Linked DNA regions of Homo sapiens: region 1 is linked to region 2. The links are contacts of gene promoters, found by promoter capture Hi-C in blood cells and fetal thymus (Javierre and others, 2016). All regions are on one chromosome and are shown on one strand. Each heading gives the region's core, a stretch centred on a gene start or on the middle of the fragment in contact. The rest is flanking DNA. Distances are from core to core; before and after follow the strand shown. Region 1 overlaps B3GALNT2 (beta-1,3-N-acetylgalactosaminyltransferase 2). Region 2 holds the start of COA6 (cytochrome c oxidase assembly factor 6).

What was found. The method cuts DNA at HindIII sites, captures the fragments that hold promoters and counts their contacts. A CHiCAGO score of 5 or more calls a contact.
Region 1: a fragment that was not itself captured here is called in contact with the fragment with the promoter of COA6 in region 2 in 3 of 17 cell types (activated CD4 T cells, naive CD4 T cells and total CD4 T cells); the score reaches 6.5 in activated CD4 T cells.

What each region holds. Positions count from the first base shown.
Region 1 is chr1:235,493,945-235,496,644 of GRCh38, reverse strand. It overlaps B3GALNT2 (beta-1,3-N-acetylgalactosaminyltransferase 2), which reads left to right. Exons shown (of 12, transcript NM_152490.5): 2 at 1,817-1,964. Among named protein-coding and RNA genes, the nearest start is that of B3GALNT2, 9.2 kb to the left of the region's middle. The HindIII fragment of the contact is 799 bases long and covers 933-1,731 here.
Region 2 is chr1:234,372,006-234,374,705 of GRCh38, reverse strand. It overlaps COA6 (cytochrome c oxidase assembly factor 6), which reads right to left and starts at 1,250. Exons shown (of 3, transcript NM_001206641.3): 1 at 1,028-1,250; 2 at 317-476. The coding sequence starts at 1,239. COA6-AS1 (COA6 antisense RNA 1) reads left to right here and starts at 1,113. Exons shown (of 2, transcript NR_125961.1): 1 at 1,113-1,283; 2 at 1,496-1,899. RefSeq lists enhancers at 867-1,416, 1,238-2,062. The HindIII fragment of the contact is 9,162 bases long and covers 1-2,700 here.

The DNA of each region.
Region 1 (2,700 bases), core at 83-2,582, 1.1 Mb before region 2:
GAACCCGGGCGGCAGAGGTTGCAGTGAGCCGAGATCGCCGCCACTGCACTCCAGACTGGGCCACAGAGTGGGACTCCGTCAAAAAAAAAAAAAAAAAGAAACAAGTACCTACCTCATAGGGTTGTGAACATTAAATGATACTCTATATGTAGTGCTTTTCACAGATTAACTGTTCAATAAATATGGCCTATTAATAAGCTTAATCCATGAAAATTTGAATTTATTTAAAAATAAATTGTCTTTATAAAAGAATTCGTTTTAGTACATGACTCATTGTAGAGTGAAATAATAAATACCTCTATTCCATTTGGAATGGAACTTTTTTTTTTTTTTCAGGTGGAGTCTCACTCTTGTTGCCCAGGCTGGAGTGCAATGGCGCGGTCTCGGCTCACCCCAACCTCCACCTCCCGGGTTCAAGAGATTCTCCTGCCTCAGCCTCCCAAGTAGCTGGGATAACAGGCAAGCACCACCACACCCGGCTAATTTTGTATTTTTAGTAGAGACAGGGTTTCTCCATGTTGGTCAGGCTGGTCTTGAACTCCCGACCTCAGGTGATCCGCCCACCTCGGCCTTCCAAAGTGCTGGGATTACAGGCATGAGCCACCGTGCCTGGCCCAGAATGAAACATTTTAAGAAATATATCTATTGTGGAAAATAAGGTATCTACACAAAAATTTCTGTATTATATCCTTAAAACTATCCTAGTAGAAAGATCTGTTTTTATTATTTTAATTGGGCCTTTGAAGAAAATATCAACCTGGTTTTGTTGTCTTTTAGACTGAATACCTAGATCCCATGGTATATAAAAACATTGCATTTAATATAGTAAAGAGTCTGGGCTTCAATAATTTATTTTTGGAAACGTTTTGGATCAGTTCCCACCACTGGAGAAAGAGATGAAATGGATACCTCATCAGAGCTATATATAAGCTTGTAGCTCTCAAGCCTTAAAACTGGTGATGAAAAACAAGGACAAAGTATATCTTTCTCTTCTGTCTTCTAAGGACAAGTTTTACATGGAAATGTAACCCTGCCCATTAGACCTTCTGACAGTAAAAAATGAGCCGTTCAGAATGACTTACTTTATTATTATTTTTTTTTTTTTTTACTAAAAGTGTTGCTTTCCCGTCATTCTTCAGAATATTTTGTAGGTAGTGAAAGGTTTACTGGCTATAGAATTCATTGATATAAATAAGGGTTGCATTACTTTCCGGTATGGAAGTCCTTCAGCGTCATCCGCCAAACTTAATAACTAACATTAATGTAGGACCTCACTTTTCAAAGCACATTTTTTTTAGTTGCCATTGAATGCCTCATATATGCCTAATACCAAACCAAGAGCTTTATACATGTTATCTCATTTAATTTTTACAACAGCTTTATGAGAAGTATTATTATACCCATTTTGTAGTTGAGGAAACTGAGGCTCAAGAAGCTAAATAACTTATAGTTAATATATGATAGAGCCTGGATTCTAACTGTGGCCTAATTGACTCTTAATGCCTACTATTTTTTTATGCTACGTTGCCTTTTGAAACAGATTCTTACCACATCTTGTTTGTTTTGAAGAATTAGTATACTTACGTGAGCATGAATACATACATATATACGTGAAAGACAAAAATACTCTAAACCAAAATGTTATTAGTGGTTGTCTCTGGATAGTGGGTTCATATGTGATTTAAAAATTCTTTTCTTTGTGTTTATCTGAATTTCCTACAAACATAAGCTTATTTTGTAATAAACTTATGATACATATTGAACTTCATAGTAATTGATACATGACTTATTTCTCATGTATTGTTCTTATTTCTAGATCAGTTGGCCTTATTTCCTCAGTGGAAATCTACTCACTATGATGTGGTAGTTGGCGTGTTGTCAGCTCGCAATAACCATGAACTTCGAAACGTGATAAGAAGCACCTGGATGAGACATTTGCTACAGCATCCCACATTAAGTCAACGGTAGGTTTTCTGAGTTGTTGCCTTGCCTGGTTTATTGAAATAAGAGTTCTGAAAAACCTAGCCAGGCGTGGTGGTGTGTGCCCGTCGTCCCAGCTACCGGGGAGGCTGAGGTGGAAGGATTGCTTGAGCTTGGAAAATTGAGGCTGCAGTGAGCCATGATTGCACCACTGCATTCTAGCCTGCATGATGGGAATGAGTCCCTGCCTAATTTAAAAAAAAAAAAAGTTCTGAAAAACCTTACTTTGAATAGAAATGTTCATTCAGATATGTGGGCTCTTCCTGGGAGAAATGGCTGTTTCATTTGCTTTTCTTCCATATAGTTTGGGCCAAAAAGTAAATTTAACCAACATTTTAAGCCAAATGATAATTGGAAGAGAGTATATTCACTGGTTAACGTGTAGTATTTAGATACCCAGTGTGGTTTGTTTGTTTTTTGCTTTGATTTAGAATAGCAATTCTTAAAAGGTTCTGTTCTAGAGCAGTTCTCTCCTTAGACACATGTGCATGTCTAAATATACTTTTCACTAACTTCACAGAGATAAATTTAATTTTTTTCAGTTTTGTAGTATTTTTTAGTTGTGTAATCTGCAGTATGTGTAATATGCCATGCTCTTTTTCCTGACTACCCTTCTGGAACTGAGCTTTGGTAATCCATTTCATGCTGACATTAGATAGCTCTCAGTTATTAGTTAGGGGCCCAAAGCCTTAGTCTGTTCTCAATGAGATCAACCTCTGA
Region 2 (2,700 bases), core at 1-2,500:
CTGCCCAAGATTAAATACTACCCCTTCAGAAGATCCTGGAAAAGTCTACCAGTGAAATGAACTGGAATTTTTTGGTTACTGTTCATATGTTTGTTGTGTTTTTCGATGCTCTTTAATGTGTCAGTTGACATTCTCCAAAGATCTAGCTGATGTAAGTGCGTCAAATAAGGCTGAATTACCAGGCAAGGTTTTCTCTGCGCCTCAAAGAAACTGTTAATTGACATGCCTCAGAGAGCGCTTCATGTCAGCCTACCACTCACAGTATAAGCTCGATGTATCTTAACAGGGAAGAGAAACACATCAAAGTGTGACTTACCCACTGTTGGGGACAACTTGATTCGAAAGAGCTTCTTAACTTCTTGCATTGAGAAGCATCCTCTAAGTTCTCATCTAAACACTTCCAGTACTCATCCCGGGCCCCCCAGCAGACCTGTCTTTCCTTCATAGATGGGGCTGCCATTCCTACTGCGATGAAGCTGTTGGCCAAAATAATATTTGAGATTAACAATGAACTTTGTAATCTGAAGAGAAGATAAGGAAAGAGGAAAACCGTCAATCTCCTCTTCCTTTAAAACTAAAAAAAAAAAAAAAAACAAAAACAAAACAAAACCATGCTTAGGGATTTTGATGAGGCAACTGAACCCAATCAGTTCTCAGTGGCAGCATAAGGCCACCCGCTCTTGAGGCTTATCTCACACTGTGTGATTTGATCCCTGCTGGGGCGGCAGCGTGGGCTCAGAAAGCCCGGCTGAGAACTGTGGTTCTGTCCCAGTCGCTTAGGGCAGCTCATTTATTCTCTCCGAGCCCGTTTCCCACCAGTAAAGCGGGGACAGCAGTGCCTAGTTTACAGGGTTACTGTTCGAACCTAAGCGCTGTAGAAACAGGTGTGTGGGGGCCACAATCACCAAGCAGGCGATTGGAGTGCCACCCCGTTTTGCACAAGAGGAACCCGCGGCTCGGGGACAGTAAGGGACCTCCCGGGCCCATAGTCCACGCGCGCCCCACCCGGACCCATCAGCAAGCCGACCTCTCTGCCCGCCCACGTCCGGCTTCCTTTCGATGTCGACGGGAGGAAACTGTCACGCAGGCCACCAACCGGCGGTGGAGGGCGCGGTGCCGAGTCCTGCCACTGCAGGGTCGCCCCGCTGGCTCAAGCTCTAGAAGCGTAGACCTCCCCAGCCGCAAAAAGCAACTCACGCGGCGAAACCGCGGACTCTTTTGACCCTTCCGAGCTACCATTTACTTTCCATAGAGGGGCGGGACTTCCTGTTTCGCTTTTATCTGTAAGACCGACTTCCGGCCTTCAAGGGCAAGAGGGGTATATACGTATATATCATCGCACGGTGTGTCCCGGAAGGCTTGATATGCTAGTCCCGCGGGACAAGGCGAGCCGAGGAGTTTGTGTGGAAGTTTGCATCTGAGAGTGCGAGAGCTGGACGGAGTGTTACAGAGCCGCGATGCCTTCTCGTTTTGTTTTGTTTTGTTTTTGATACAGTGTCTCGCTCTTCCGCCCAGTCTCGAGTGCAGTGGTGAGAACACGGCTTACTGCAGCCTCAAAATCCTGGACCCAAAAGATCCTCCCACCTCAGCCTGCCTCCCAGGTAGCTGGGACTACAGGCGCACAACACCATCGCTTCTTGGATTAAAAGAAAAGGATGAAACGGGCCCCAGAAAGAGGCGGTGACGTCCCAGAACCCATGGCAGGGGAGTTGGGAAAATAAATATTTGTATTGTTTTAATCTCCCTTGTGGCTTTTTTTAACCCCCGAAACAGCAAGGTATTTTTAAAAGGGATGAAGAGAGTTGCTTCAAATGTTTTGAGACGTTGTTATTTTTAATATGTGAGTGAATATCTTAGAAACAAAATGAACAAGAAATAAAAATTTTAGAAAATATATGAGTTAATCTCTCAGCAGAGTCTTTATTAAAAAGCATGTTTATGGTCAGTCATCTGGCACCCCGTTCTCTTAATAGATCCCATCTGCTCCATCATCTAGTTCTAAAACATTTATATAAGATGCAATTTACAATTTTGCACTCAGTGCAGTTTGATCCATTCCAAATTCAATATATGCAGACTTTTCCGGGTGGCGATGTGAGGCTACGTACCACCAAATATGTGTTCTGCAATATAGAAAGTATTTCCCCCATAGTTAATGCACTCTCATAGTGGAGTTACTTTAGCTTTACCAGAGCCACCCCCTTCTTTTACATCATGTCTATTGACGTCAGTTTACATATAGATATCTTTTAAATATGACTGATGGGATATAAAAGGAATGAAAGGAAAGAGTCTTAGATGACTTCTGAGTCTAAAAAGGAAATGTGTTTTAAATTTAAAATTTATAAGTACCTAATGAAAAATACATATGAAACAAAGTGAAGTGACAGAATTACAAAGAAAAAAAATGCCTGGTCATATTGGGTAATTTTAACAGGACTTTCTCACTAATCGTTAAGACTAGCAAGAGAAAAGTTAAGGATATAGGAAACGTGAATAACATGATGTAAAAATGACGCAATTAATATGTACAGAACAACACGACCAAAATCAGAATGTACAGTTTTTTGAAAGCAGACACATCACCACAGTCAACCACATACTTAGTTATAAAGCAACTCAAGAAATTTTGAAAATTGAAATAATTGTCATTTTTTACTACAGTGCATTTAAGATAGAAATCAATAAAGAACTGTAAAA